2 separate regions of the Homo sapiens genome follow, and region 2 is linked to region 1. The links are contacts of gene promoters, found by promoter capture Hi-C in blood cells and fetal thymus (Javierre and others, 2016). All regions are on one chromosome and are shown on one strand. The core of a region is centred on a gene start or on the middle of the fragment in contact, and the rest is flanking DNA. Distances in the headings are between cores, read along the strand shown. Region 1 holds the start of PLEKHG6 (pleckstrin homology and RhoGEF domain containing G6). Region 2 has its middle 16 kb from the start of VWF.

Region 1 (7,749 bases), core at 5,250-7,749:
CATGGGAGGGGGAAGATCAGGAAGAGGGGTTGGAAGGAGACAGAAGAGGGAGCAGGAGAGGAGAGGACTGAATAGATACTATGAGGAAGAATATTTTGGGGAGAGCGGAGTGAAGATGCTTATTAGGAAACGATGCCGTGTAATAAGCAACAGAGCCCTGGGCTCGGGCTCCAGCCAACAGCCCTCAGTAAAGACCAGCCCTGGCCAGCAGCCTTCAGTAAATACTTCTCAAAGCTTTAGGAGTTAGATTTCTTGTGTCTTCAAATGCTGAGATGACATTTAGGGCTGAAACAAGGCAGTCAGTTTTATCTGGTTTCCTTTCCATACACTAGGCTTACCTAGAGCAACTTGTTTATTTGCCTATTGGATAGTAGTTAAAGGTGCCAGCTTGGGAATGAGGCAATTGAGTTCAAATCCTGACTTTTTTTCTTGCTAAATTTGTCATCTTGAACATGTCATGGAACCTCTCTGAGCCTGTTTCCTCCCCTGTGATAGGAGTATGATAGTATCTACCTCATAGGATTTTTGTGAGGATTAAATAAAATAAAACATATAAACTATGTGCCTTGCACATAGTTATTGCTTTAATAAGCTAGCTCTGGCTGGGCGCAGTGGCTCACGCCTGTAATCTGAGCACTTTGGGAGGCCAACTCAGGAGGATCCCTTGAGGCCAGGAATTCAAGACAAACCTGGGCAGAGAGGGAGACCCCCTTCTCTACAAAAAATTAAAAATTAGCCAGGTTTGGTGGCACACACCTGTGGTCTCAGCTACTTGGGAGGCTGAGGTGGGAGGATCACTTGAGCCTAGGAGGTTGAGGCTGCAGTGAGCCATGATCGCACTACTGTACTCCCAGCCTGGATGACAGAGCAAGATGCTGTCTCTTAAAAAATTAATTAATTAATTAATTAAAGTTAGCTATTGTTATTATTGTAATGATCCAATGATTCCAAAATTTAGTTACTTTATCCTCATTTTACATACAAGGATGGAGATATAGACAAATCAAATCCAGCTGCCCCCAAAGCCCGATGAAGGGCTTCCCTATGAACCAAGACCCTGGCATGAGACAGAGATGGCTCCAAGCCTCTGAGCCCTGCACAGTGCATTTGTATTCTAAAAACAACAAACCAACAAGTGCAGGAGCAGTAAGGGAGGCAGAGATCCGTCATTTAGGCAGGCAGAAATGATTAATGCAAAATTAAGGTAGAAACCGACACAAAATGGGCTGGGCACAGTGGCTCATGCCTGTAATCCCAGCACTTTGGGAGGCGGAGGCAGGCCAATCACGAGGTCAGGAGATCGAGACCATCCTGGCCAACATGGTGAAACCCCGTCTCTACTAAAAACACAAAAATTAGCTGGGCATGGTGGCACGCTACTGTAGTTCCAGCTACTTGGGAGGCTGAGGCAGGAGAATCGCTTGAACCCGGGAGGCAGAGGTTGCAGTGAGCCGAGATTGCGCCACCACTACACTCCAGCCTGGCGACAGAGCAAGACTCCATCTCAAAAACAAACAAACAAACAAAAAGAAAAAGAAAAAAAAAAAGATTCCACAGCTCTTGGTCCAGCACCTTTTCCTCCTTCTCTACCCAGCCGACTACTACTCATCCCTCAAGTCCCAGCACAAAGCTTGCCTCCTCTAGAAGCCATCCCTAGCTCCCCTATGTAGTAACTGGTCCTTCCAAAGTGTTCCTGCAGCTCCCAGTTTATCCCTTCTATGTCTAACTTCCATATCAATATTCTGTTCACCCATCTGTTCATCCAGTGTTCTGTTCACTACAGGGCATGTTGGCATGTGCCTGTGGTCCCAGCTACTCGGGAGGCTGAGATGCGAGGATCACTGGAGCCTCGGAGGTCTGGGCTGCAGAGAGCTGTGATGGCGCTACTGCACTCCAGTCTGGTTGACAGAGTGAGACCCTGTCTCAAAAAAAGAAAAAAAATTCCACAGCCTCTCTGGGGCCGCATGTCAAAAGGGTGCCTCGGAGCACAGACCTGGACATCCAGACATCTGACTGGAAGATATGCCACCGTAAATCCCAAGAAGGTAGATCCACCCGATTGTCTTCTAGTCACCTTCGCCATCAGCTTCCAACAGAGGCAAAGGCCTTACATTCTCAGTGTCCCAGTCTTGGCTCAGTGCAAGACAAGTGACTGATAAACCTCACGCTAAGGCAGAAAGAGCCCTCTTTCCCCTGGGGCAGACATTGCTAAGCCATCTTAGCATTCTTTCTGCTGAGCCAGCCACAGAATCCTTCTTAAGTTAATGTTCCAGGAACCCACCACCTATCAGAATTAGCCCGCAATTCAGGATCTGAGAGAATCTGGAATTTTAAAAAAAGAAAAAGAGAAAAGAATTGGCCTGCAAGGTAAACTTACATGGTATGTTTGCCCTAATGGAGAGGAACATTTAGGTGCATCACAGATGTCCTGATGCTACAGTAATCAAGCAGGAAAGGAAACTGAAATTATGGAAGAATTCCAGGTATCTAAAAAGCAAATGTGGTTCCTTTGGGTAGGGACAGAACAGTACAGGCCAGTCTATCTGCAAGTCATTCTGTCTGGGTCCTCTAGCAAGTCAATCCAGTTCAATTCCCAAACACCATGCCAGTCTTGTGTTAGGCTGGTCTCTGCCCTCAGGCATAGGTGGCACATGCTAATATCAACTTAGTAGGGAGAACAAGAGTGGTGCCTTTTAAAGAAACATAGCGGTCAAGGCAGCTGCAAGCAGGGAGGAAAGTGATCAGCCTGGCTGCGGGATTATTAGGAAAGGCTTCGTGAAGGAGGCAGTCCTAGGAAAGACCTCGAAGGAGGTAAGTGGAGTCGGAGGACAAGGCACCCAGCTGAGGGGAACAGCTTGAGCAAAGGCATGGAGTCAGGAAAGTCGAGGCCGACCCAGGGAATGGGGACACATCTAGGGATTGAGTAGGGAAGTATAACTGAGGTCAAACTGCGGAGGTCCTGGAAGGCCACAAAGAAGGTTCGTCCTCCTAAGCCACCACCCAGAGACCCTCGGCTCGGAAGCTGGGATATTCCCAGGGAGCCAACAGGGTAGACCCTCAGGAGGCCTTTAGGGAAGTCTGCCCTTCCCCAGTTTCTTTTTAAACATGCTCTTCCCTCCTCCAGAAATGTCCTTTCCTCCTTCTCAGCCCAGCTGACTGCTACTCATCCTTCGAGTCCCAACACAAAGCTCGCCTCCTCTAGAAGCCATCCCTGGCTCCCCTATGTAGTAACCGGTCCCTCCAAAGTGTTCCCACAGCTCCTGACTTAGTCGTTCTTGGTCTAACTTAAATATCAATGTTCTTTTCGCCCATCTGCCTCCCCACTAGTCTGTAAGCCCCTAGAAGTCAGGGCCTCTTATTCTTTTCTATATTCCTACTGTCTTACACATTGCCAGTAAATGTGGAAGGAAGGGGGAGGGGACGAAAGAAGAAACGGGAAGCACCAGTTCTGGCCTGAGGCACCAGAGGCTTTGCCCTGTGGCCTGTCCTCCTGGTATTCATCTGCCTCACATGACCTGGCGCCTCCTAGCTTGAACCCTCAGTTTCTGCCTCGCTCTGGGCAGGGAGGACACAGCTCCCATTAGCTGCCTCCTGTTGCTAGTGCCTGCCAGCCCCTCATTAGCCCAGATGGTCCCCACTTCTGCCCTGAGAGATATGGGCTCAGCAGAGGTCGAGGCACAAATGAGTTTCCCTGACCTTCCTGCCTGGTGAGCCCCTTATGCCAACCCCAGGCAGTTATCCTCAGGCTGCTATTGGACAGAAGCATTTGATCCTCAGAGCTCTGACCGTGGACACACACTTTACCATCAGTTATGGGGTCAATCCAGGGGCCTAATGAGGAGCATCTTACCTGGGAGAAAGTGAGGCATATGACTCAAGCTAGACATGTGAGGAAAGGCTAGGATAACCAGGAATAAAGAGAAGTATCCAGATGGCATACTCTGGTCCAAGGACCAGATGGCCCCTAGCCTCACTTGGCAGAGGCCAAGCCTCCAGCCTCCCAATTCTTTACATTTCATTCAGCTCCCTGAGAATGCTCCCCTCAGCCTGCCATAGGAGTGTGCTCTCCGCAGCACAGAGGAGTCATGGAAGTGGAGACTGTGAGAGTGACAGAAGAGAAGAAACAGAACATGGAGGCCTGCCTCCTAGGCCACACACCTGTGCCCGGCCACACCTCTGGCTTCTAGACTCCAGCTTGCCCTGGGAACCTCTCCTCCCAGGGAGGCTGAAGACAGGCCCTGGGGCAGTAGTGGGTGGAGACTGGACCTCAACGCCTAGAGGGAAGTGAAAGGGTTAACCACCCCGCCACCCACCACCACCTGCCACTGGGCCCCTCTAGCCAGCTCACCCCAGAGCACTGTAAGCCCAGGCTTGTCTTTGGTGCTCTCTCAATTTCATCTTCCCTCTTATTCCTCCTTCCCACTCCTTCTGGGAGACACTGGGAGGAGAAGCTAGGGGCCATTGGCACCAGCTGTCTCTGGGGTGTCATTTAATACTGTCCGTAATCACCACCTCCTCTCCTGGCTTATTAACTCTTTCCCTCATGGCTACTCTTGTCATCCCTGGACATCTCTCTATCTCTGTCTAGCTCTCACCACACACACACACACACACACACACACACACACACACACACACACACACACACACAGTGAATGGGAAGAGGGAAGGGCTAGGAACTAGGCACACTCTGGTTTCTTGCCACTGCAGTTCCTTTCCCACCTGACTTCACCCCCGAAAACTAGTCCCACCACCAGCTGGGCCAGGAGCAGGAGACAGGCTGGTTCAAGGAGCTGGAGGAACAGAGGACACTTCTGAACCAGCAGAGCAATCACACAACAGCAAGCTCAGAGAAAGAGAATCCCAGAGGGCAGATTTGAGGATGGACACAGGGAATACAAAATTAGAAACTGCCCAAAGATATAGATTCCTCCTCCAAACAAAATAGAGTCACCAGAGTCCGAGTGAGGACTAGAACACTCTGATCATGTATGCGTTTCATAGCCTAGATGGGAAAAGGGAATAGAGGCCTTTTCCCCTGGCAACTCAAGGAGATTCTGCTTCTGAAAGTGTTTCCTGAACTTCAGGATGCTCTGAAGAAGTAAGGAGCCGTATCAATCACTGTTGAGTTCATTGGCAGGAAATAGACCACAGTCAGGGTGAGGGGCTGGGAGCCTCAGACCTGCCACCTGCCAACTACAGGGTCTTGGGTTTCATGGTTGTGAGATTATAATGACCACACATCCACAGGACACTTCTATCTCAAATATCCAGTGCTTCTGTCAGACGAGGTGCCATGATTTGGAGAAGTGAAAAGGTGGGGAAACCGAAGCAGGAGGATCGCTTGAACCCAGGAGTTGGAGTCCATCCTGGGCCACACAGCAAGATATTGTCTCTATTTTCTTTTTAAAAAATAAATTTTAAAAATAAAGAAAATAAAGTATGGTCCTTTCATGCAATGCCCAGCATGTGTCAGTCCTTCCACAGCATCTTTTTCTTTTTCTTTCTTTTTTTTTTTTTTTTTTTTTGAGATGGAGTTTCACTCTGTTGCCCAGGCTGGAGTGCAGTAGTGCTGTCTTGGCTCACTGCAACCTCCACCTCCCAGGTTCAAGCGATTCTCCCGCCTCAGCCTCCCAAGTAGCTGGGACTACAGGCGCCCGTCACCATGCCCAGCTAATTTTTGTATTTTTAGTAGAGTCGGGGTTTCACCATATTGGCCAGGCTGGTCTCCATCTCCCGACCTTGTGATCCGCCCGCCTCGGCCTCCCAAAGTGTTGGGATTACAGGCGTGAGCCATCGCGCCTGGCCCCACAGCATCTATTTTAGCAGCCACCGCAAGGGCTGGGTGACCCTGGTGTAGCCGGGAGTGGGCTTATTTGCAGGTGAACTGGGAGGGTGCCCCCACCTGAGTCTTAGGTCATAGGAGAAGTGCGGGTCAGGCCTCAGCTGCCTATCCCTGGAGCAAAGGCAAAGTCCAGGATAGCCTTCCAGTATCACCTTCCACCAGGCAGGCCAGCCGGTCCTCTGAGAGATAAGGCTCACACTTTGGACTCCACACAGCGACGGGGCCCCCTGCCCCTCCAGCTGGCAGGCGGGCTCCCTGCCTGCTTAGGGGTCTAGGCCGAGGCAGGGGGAGGACCGGACGGCCGGCCACTCGCCGCGACCAGCAGGAGAGAGGGGTGCCTGCCACAGGTTGTCACCCTCGCCGCCTCCCCCGGCGGCGCCCCGCCCCTTACTCAGCCCTCATTACTGCAGCGCCTCGCGGGGGTCTGGCCCGGAGTGGAGGGCGCGCGGTCCCAGCCCTCCCGCTCGGCCGGCGGGTGTCGAGTTCAGGTGCGACCGAAAAGGGGAAAGGAGGGCACCGCCACGTGAGCTGTCCTCTCCGGGGAAGGCGGTGGCTGCGTGAGGGCGGGGGCTGCTCGGTCCCCAGGGCCCCGCCCCTCTGCCCCTCTGCCCCGAGCGGTGCTGGCGGTAGGGAGGGGCCAGCCCGGTCCCCGCCCTCCTCGCCCGGACCCGCGCTGCCCGGCTCCCGCGGGCCGCTCGATCCCAGTCCCAGGCTGGGCATCGGGGCTGGCTGGCATCGCCGGGGAGCCGACGGCGACGGGGAGCCCCGCGGGCGGGGAGGGCGGCGCAGGGCAGCGGGTGCGGTGACACCTGTGGGCACAGGTGAGCGGCGGGAGGGCTACGCGGCCCGGGGGCGGGGCGGCCGGGACCCGGGGCCTGGAAGCCGGGGCGAAGGGGAAGGAAGGCCTGGCCTCCCGAAGGCGGGAGGAGGGGAGCCGGGGGCTGGGCTGAGACAGGACCCTGGGTAGGGAGCAGTGCGAGGGAGACAGCGCCCTCAGAGGGAGGACTATTGGGAGGCGGCAGGAGGGACAGCGAACGTTTCCTCCTCTGCTCCTGAATCGGAGGAAGGTAAGGGAGGGCTGAGGCAGGACCTCAGGCCCACCCGGTCGGGGCACAAACACCTGCGCAGCCTTCTTGAGCCCACCGCCCCTTAGGAGGCCTCTCCTCTTCCAGGCCCTGCCCACTCGAGGGCGGGCCCTCCCTCCAGGTTTAGGGGGGAGGGATGGAGCCCCACGCCTGGCCCCCAGCTCCATGGTGGTATTCCCAGAGTCTGGGGAGGACCAAATATATAGCCCGAAACTGGAGAAACTCTAATTCTATTTGGCTGGTCTCTAAGGGCAGTGGCCGGACAGCTGGCCCCACTCACCTCCCTGTCTGTGGTCAGGAGGGTTCAGGTAGGAGATGGGCAAGCCTTTCAGTAAAGGCCAGACAGTAAAGATTAGAGACTTCGCGGCCTACACCGTCTGTCCCAACTAGCAAGAAGCAGTCACAGGTTATTAGGAGACCAGCAGAAGAGGATGGATTCCAACAAAACTGTGTTTATGGACACTGAATTTGAATATCATGTAATATTTACTTGTCCCAAAATATTGGTGGCTTTTTTGCAGGGGGGGCAGCAGTTGTTTCAACTATGTAAATATGTAAAGGCTTACAGGCTGTACAAAAACTGGTGGCAGACTGGGCTGTCTCCAGCCACCCCCACTCCCAGCCCACCCCACCCACCATGGCCTCCCTCCAGCTTTTTCCCAAGCTTTATATGGGGAAGGGGATGGGGTTATATCTAGGTGCAAGGAGAACCCTCCCACCTGGGTGTATCCAGAAAGCCCGAGACCTGTCTGTGACCCTTGTTCCCATTTGAGACCAGTGCAGGAGCTTGTACCCCAAATATGCACACATGTGAGAGAG
Region 2 (7,749 bases), core at 1,792-4,291, 170 kb before region 1:
GAGACCTTCCTCACCTCTTCCAGCTTCTGGTGGCTTCAGACTTTCCTTGGCTTGTGGCAGCATCACTCTAATCTCAGCCTCTGTCTTCACATGGCTCTCTCCTCATCTCCCTGTGTGTCTCCCACTGTATATTTCTTATAAGAACACCTGACATTGAATCTAAGTAATCTGGAAGGACCTAGTAATCTTTTTTTGGTTTTTTTGTTTGTTTGAGTCGGAGTCTCACTGTCACCCAGGCTGGAGTGCAATGGTGCAATCTCAGCTCACTGCAACCTCTGCCTACCTGGCTCAAGTGATTCTCTTGCCTCAGCCTTCCAGGTAACCAGGATTACAGGTACGTGCCAACACACCCAGCGGATTTTTGTATTTTTAGTAGAGACAGGGTTTCACCATGTTGCCCAGACTGGTCTTGAACTCCTGACCTCAGGTGATCCACCCGCCTCAGCCTCCCAAAGTGCTGGGATTACAGGCGAGAGCCACCGCACCCAGCCTCTTTGTTTTTGTCAAGGTGGAGTCTCACTCTATCACCCAGGCTGGATTGCAGTGGCACAATCTTGACTCACTGCAGCCTTCACCTCCGAGGTTCAAGTGATTCTCCTGCCTCAGCCTCCCGAGTAGCTGGGATTACAGGCACCACCACCACACCCAGCCTTTTTTTTTTTTTTTTTTTTTTTTGGTATTTTTAGTAGACAGGGTTTTGCCATGTTAGCCAGTCTGGTCTCAAACTCCTGGCCTCAAGTGATCTGCCCACTTCGGCCTCCCAAAGTGCTGGGATTACAGGCGTGAGCCACCACACCCCGCCTAAGGATCTAGTAATCTAGGGTGATCTATCTTGACATCCTTAATTACATCTGCAAAAAGCCTTTTTCCAAGTAAGGTCACATTCACAGGGTCCAGGAGTTAGAATGTGGACATGTCTTTTGGGGGTCACCATTCAATCCACTGTACCTTCTAACAACCGTTTGAGGGAAAGAGAGCGTTACTCTCATTTTATAGTTGAGGATGCTGAGGCTCAGACAGGGTAAGGGCCTTGCCTAGGATCACACTGCTACCAAAGGCAGCCAGCATCTGAATCTACCTGATTACAAAGTCCGTGTTTTCTCCACTATACCTATAACTCTTCCATAAGCCTTTTCTCCTTTCCTCCCACCCTTCACCCCCGCTTTTCCTGCCTTTGAACCACCTCTGGGTGCTTCTGTGGCCCTCTCATCTTTTCATGCATTTTTCTTTTTTTTGAGACGGAGTCTCGCTCTGTTGCCCAGGCTGGAGTGCAATGGCGCGATCTTGGTTCACTGCAACCTCTGCCTCCCTGGTTCACGCCATTCTCCCACCTCAGCCTCCCGAGTAGCTGGGACTACAGACGCCCACCGCCACACTCAGCTAATTTTTTGTTTTTATATTTTTAGTAGAGACGAGGTTTCACCGTGTTACCAGGATGGTCTTGATCTCCTGACCTCGTGATCTGCCCGCCTCGTCCTCCCAAAGTGTTAGGATTATGGGCATGAGCCACCGCTCCCAGCCTTTTCATGCATTTTTGTTTGTCTTATCTCCTCCAGTCTGAGCTCTCCTTAGAACAAGACCTTGCCTTACTCATCTCTGTATCTTCCAAAGTGCTCTGTCTGGAGCATAGCACATGGTAAGTGCTCCATAAATGTCTGTTGAACTCCCTGCTAGTAGAACAATGATGTGGGTTAATTAGCATATAATATTAAAATGTAGCTACAGAACTGAAACTGCAGATAAAAAAAATTGCTTAATACCCAAGGAAGTTGTTGCCTGCTCTCCAAATCATCAGCACAGAAGATAGCACTCGTCACTGTGGTTGGGGAAATTGCACGGTGAAAGTCACAGGATGGCTCTGCAAGGGGGCAGGGACATCAGACTGGGGTCACGTTCCCATGTGGTATTCTGCGCCTGTAACTCATATGACACTCTGGCACTATTTCTAAATAACACTCAAGTGTCTGTTTTATCAGAGTATAACACACTTGGCTGGAATAGTTCACTTACTGATATTCCACAATTTATGTAACCAGTTCCATATTATGGGATATTTATTTAGGTTAGTGCTACTTTTTTTTTTTTTTTTTTTTTTTTGAGATGCAGTCTCGCTCTGTCACCCAGGCTGGAGTGCAGTGGCGCAATCTCGGCTCACTGCAAGCTCCACCTCCTGGGTTCATGCCATTCTCCTGCCTCAGCCTCCCGAGTAGCTGGGACTACAGGCACCCGCCACTACACCCGGCTAATTTTTTGTATTTTTAGTAGAGACAGGGTTTCACCGCGTTAACCAGGATGGCCTCAATCTCCTGACCTCGTGATCCGCCCGCCTCTGCCTCCCAAAGTGCTGGGATTACAGGCGTGAGCCACCACTCCCGGCCTACTTTTTTTTTTTTTTAATTAACAATGCTGCAGTGAACATCTTTGAAGCTATATCCATGCACAACCCTCAGGATTACTCCCACAGGATGAAATCCTACATGTGGAGCACTGGGTCAGCCACCGTCCACATTTTCAGTGAGGCCTTTGACAATAAGGCCAAATGGCCCCCCTGAAAAATTGCAATGGTTTATAATGGTTGCAATGGTTTAATTACCCATTTGCTGAGTAGGATTTTGCCAGGTGAAAATGAGGGCAAAGGCACATCAGCTGCAAGGAAGGAAGTAAAAGCTTAGAAGCAGGCAAGCTCTGAGATGCTAAATCAGTAAGTAGGTGAATAAGCCAGTTGTTACAGCCTATAAAGGAGACTCACAGGAAAAGAGACCAAAGAGAGGAATAAGAGGCAAGTCCTCAGGGACCTTCAACCAGTGTAGGGGTTTATGTTCATCCTGTGACACCAGATGAGGCCCTCTGGCAGCAGTGGCATGTATTGTGAGAGGTCAGATGGAGAAAGGGAGATCCATTAGTGGTTGGTGGAACCTTCCCGGACAGGGAAGACGAGGGCCTGGAGGAGACCATGGGTTTGACAAGAGAAGAGCAGATACAGCCAACCACGTAACACATTACGGTAGCAGAAGAACAGCCAAAGATGTCTACATCCCATCTCAAACCTCTGAATGCTACCTTACATGGCAAAAGGGATTTTGCAGATGTGAGCAAGTTAAGGGTCTTGAGATGGGGAGATGATCCTGGCTTACCCCAGAGTATCCTGCTGGGCCGATATAATCACAAGAGTTTTTATAAGAGGAGCAGGAGGGTCAGCATCAGGGAAGGAGATGTGATGATGCGAGCAGAGGTCATGCAACGCGGGGCCACGAGGCAAGGAATGTGTGCCCCTGGAAGTGGATAGAGGCGAAGAACAGGTTCTCCCATAGAACCTACAGAAGGAATCCAGCTCTTCCAACACACCTTGATTTTGATCCAATTCGAGCTTCTTACAATTACGAATTGTAAGATAAATTTGTGTTGTTTCAGGCCACTAAGCTTGTGGTCATTTGTCACTGCAGCAATAGAAAACTAATATAGGCCAAGATATCATGCCACACAACCTGCTCCCTTGCCCTCATGGAGGGTGTCCCAAGGCAGCTTTGCCAAATAAGTTAGAGGACAATTAGTGCTGTGAGGCTCAAGGAAGAAGGATCCCTGAGGACCACAGTATGAGAGCCATTAGAACTTGGGCTGATGTAAACAGCATTAAGTACAAATGGGAAGGGTGCGTGACCTCTGGGGGCGCATGGGGCAGGGCTGCTCAGAGGCAGGGGGATGGGTAAATTGACCTCTGCCTGTCTGAGGAGTAAGTTCTCCAGGTAACTAGTACAAAAGCAAAAGAACCTCAGGGGAGGAAAGGTTTTCTAGGAGGACCCATCTTTGTCTTTTCTTTGTATATTTGTAGCATCTCTCTTACGTAAATTCTGCAGGAAAGAGAATTTTCTTGGCAGTATGCGCCAAATAAATAAACACAGCAGTATTTCTTAGGCCAGACGACCAGCTCCCAGCATAAAGCTGTAGCCCCCAGCGGAGAGGAAGCTGTCCTCCTCTACTTCCTCTCTTCTAAAGACAAACATCTTGTGCAAGAATAACATGCTCACTTCCTTCACAATCATCAAAATAGAGAGGACCCACCCACGCTACAATGTCAGAAGAATGGTGCAGCTTCAGACTCATCTTCCCTGGTTCTCAGGAACAATGACACCACATTATTGCTGCTATCGAGCTACAGAGAACTCAGACCATTACATCTGGTGGCATTCCTGGCCCCAGTAGTAGCACAGCAGGATTCCTGACCCCAGAATCACTATCTCAAGACCTGGGGTTCTAATTTGAGAGGCAGAAAGTTACAGCAACTCAAATTTATATGCATCTTACAAAATAGCTTCAAAATACATAAATTGACAATTGACTTCAAAAAGGCTTTCTCAATTATCCATAGGTCAGGCAGATAAAAATCAGTAAAGATAGAAATTTTAAAAACAATGATCAGCCTAGGCAACAAAGTGAGACCTCATGTCTACAAAAAAAAGAAAAAATTAGCCAGGTGTAGTGGCACACATCTGTCATCTTAGCTATTCAGGAGGCTCAGGCAGGAGGATTGCTTGAGCCCCGAAGTTCCAGGCTGCAGTGAGCTATGATTGCACTGATGCAGGGCAAGTAAGCTCCCAAATTGGGACTTAGCCCTGGAAGATTCTTGGCTTTGCTCAGGAAAGAATTCAAGAGCCAGCTGGTGGTAGAAGAAAACAGCTTTATGGAGGCAGCAGTGTGACAACTTTATGACTACTCCTGCAGAGCAGGGCTAACCCCTAGGCAATGTGTTGAGAGCACCAGCTCAGGGGCAGGTCAACAGTCATACATATACCCACTTTCAATTACTTGCAAGTTAAGGTATTGAGAGGTGACAGCGTGCTGGCAGTCCTCAGAGCCCTTGCTTGCTCTCAGCACCTCCCCTGCCTGGGCTCCCACTTTGGCGGCATTTGAGGAGCCCTTCAGCCCCCCACTGCACTGTGGGAGCCACTTTCTGGGCTGGCCAAGGCTGGAGCCCGCTCCCTCAGCTTGCAGGGAGGTGTGGAGGGAGAGGCGCGAGCAGGAAGCAGGGCTGCGTGCCGCGCTTGCGAGTCAGCTGGAGTTCCGGGTGGGCGTGGGCTTGGCGGGCCCCACACTCAGAGCAGCCGGCCAGCCCTGCTGGCCCCGGGCAATGAGGGACTTAGCACCCGGGCCAGCAGCTGTGGAGGGTGTACTGGGTCCCCCAGCAGTGCTGGCCCACCGGCGCTGCGCTCGATTTCTCGCCGGGCCTTAGCTGCCTTCCCGCGGGGCAGGGCTCGGGACCTGCAGCCTGCCATGCCTGAGCCTCCCACCCACTCCATGGGCTCCCGTGTGGCCCAAGCCTCCCCGACGAGCACCACCCCCTGCTCCACGGCGCCCAGTCCCATCGACCACCCAAGAGCTGAGGAATGAGAGCGCACAGCGCGGGACTGGCAGGCAGCTCCACCTGCAGCCCCAGGTGCGGGATCCACTAGGTGAAGCCAGCTGGGCTCCTGAGTCTGGTGGGGACGTGGAGAGTTTTTATATCTAGCTCAGGGATTGTAAACACACCAATCAGCACCCTGTGTCTAGCTCAAGATTTGTGAGTGCACCAATCGACACTCTGTATCTAGCTGCTCTGCTGGGGCCTTGGACAACCTCTGTGTGGAAACTCTGTATCTAACTAATCTGATGGGGACGTGGAGAACCTTTGTATCTAGCTCAAGGATTGTAAACGCACCAATCAGCGCCCTGTTAAAACAGGCCACTCGGCTCTACCAATCAGCAGCATGTGGGTGGGGCCAGATAAGAGAATAAAAGCAGGCTGCCGGAGCCAGCATTGGCAACCCGCTCCGGTCCCCTTCCACAGTGTGAAGGCTTCGTTCTTTTGCTCTTTGCAATAAATCTTGCTATTGCTCACTCTGGGTGCACACTGCTTTTAAGATCTGTAACTCTCACCGTGAAGATCTGCAGCTTCACTCCTGAGGCCAGCAAAACCACGAGCCCACCGGGAGGAACGAACAACTCCAGATGCACTGCCTTAAGAGTGGTAACGCCCACCGCAAAGGTCTGCAGCTTCAATCCTGAGCCAGGGAGATCATGAACCCACCAGAAGGAAGAAACTCTGAACACATCTGAAAGTCAGAAGACACAGACTCCAGATGTGCCACTTTAAGAGCTGTTAACTACGAGGGTCTGTGGCTTCATTCTTGAAGTCAGTGAGACCAAGAACCCACCAATTCCAGACGCAGTATGGGTTATTCAGAAATTTCTAGAAAAATGGTGGTAACTTTCACGTGGTTGCCATGAAAAGAGGTGGTAACTTCTGTGTGTTGCCATGGCAATGGTAAACTGACATGGAATTGGTTGTCAGGTCTTTCCCCCCCCCCCCCCCCCCCAGCTGGAGTCTTGCTCTGTCTCATAGGCTAGAGTGCAATGGTGCAATCTCAGCTCACTGCAACATCTGTCTCCCAGGTTCAAGTGATTCTCTGGCCTCGGCCTCCTGAGTAGCTGGGATTACAGGTGCCCACCACCACGCCCTACTAATTTTTGTATTTTTAGTAGAGATGGGGTTTCACCATGTTGGCCAGGCTGGTCTCAAACTCTTGACCTCAAGTGGTCCGCCCACCTCTACCTCCCAAAGTGCTACGATTACAGGCGGGAGCCACCATGCCCAGCCAACTGGTGGGCATGTCATGGAGAGGTGTTTTCCCCGCCTCTTCCCTGTTTCAGCCAATCTTCAATCTGGTCCAGAGTAAGATCCTGCCTCCTACCTCAGCACCACTGCATTCCAGCCTGGACAACAGAGTAAGACCCTGTCTCAAAAAGCAAACAAACGGGCTGGCCCGGTGGCTCACACCTGTAATCCCAGCACTTTGGCAGGCCGAGGTGGGCGGATCACTTGAGGTCAGGAGTTCGAGACAAGCCTGGCCAACATGGTAAAACCCCATCTCTACTAAAAATACAAAAAAAAAAAAATTAGCTAGGCATTTTGGCGTGCACCTGTAATCCCAGCTACTTGGGAGGCTGAGGAAGGAGAACTGCTTGAACCTGGGAGGCGGAGGTTGCAGTGAGCCAAGATAGTGCCACTACACTCCAGAACGGGTGACTGAGTGAGACTCTGTCTCAAACAAAAACAAAAAACAATGGTTAAACCCTATTATTGCATTTTTGGGCATTTATGCCAGAGAAATCTAAATAGTTTCATGTTAAATATTGTACGTGAATGTTCACAGAAGGTTTTTTTTTTTTTTTTTGAGAGAGAATCTCGCTCTGTCACCCAGGCTGGAGTGCAGTGGCGCGATCTCGGTTCATGCCATTCTCCTGCCTCAGCCTCCTGCGTAGCTGGGACTACAGGCACCCGCCACCACCATGCCCGGCTAATTTTTTGTATTTTTAGTAGACACGGGTTTTCACCGTGTTAGCCAGGATGGTCTCGATCTCCTAGCCTCGTGATCCGCCCGCCTCGGCCTCTCAAAGTGTTGGGATTACAGGCGTGAGCCACCGCGCCCGGCCAAATGTTCACAGAAGCTTTATTTGCAATGACAAAAACTGGAAGAGGCTGGGCGCGGTGGCTCATGCTTGTAATCCCAGCACTTTGGGAGGCCGAGGCGGGCGGGTCACGAGGTCAGGAAATCCAGACCATTCTGGCTAACACGGTGAAACCCCGTCTCTACTAAAACTATAAAAAATTAGCTGGGCGTGGTGGCGGGCGCCTGTAGTCCCAGCTACTCGGGAGGCTGAGGCAGGAGAATGGCGTGAACCCGGGAGGCGGAGCTTGCAGTGAGCCGAGATCGC

The links. The method cuts DNA at HindIII sites, captures the fragments that hold promoters and counts their contacts. A CHiCAGO score of 5 or more calls a contact.
Region 2: a contact is called between a fragment that was not itself captured here and the fragment with the promoter of PLEKHG6 in region 1, in 1 of 17 cell types (M1 macrophages). The highest score is 7.0, in M1 macrophages.

The regions. Positions count from the first base shown.
Region 1 is chr12:6,304,183-6,311,931 of GRCh38, forward strand. PLEKHG6 (pleckstrin homology and RhoGEF domain containing G6) reads left to right here and starts at 6,500. Exons shown (of 16, transcript NM_001384598.1): 1 at 6,500-6,666. RefSeq lists an enhancer at 5,314-6,034 and a silencer at 6,397-6,446. The HindIII fragment of the contact is 5,964 bases long and covers 1,629-7,592 here.
Region 2 is chr12:6,137,195-6,144,943 of GRCh38, forward strand. No RefSeq gene overlaps it. Among named protein-coding and RNA genes, the nearest start is that of VWF, 16 kb to the left of the region's middle. RefSeq lists an enhancer at 5,153-5,710. The HindIII fragment of the contact is 753 bases long and covers 2,666-3,418 here.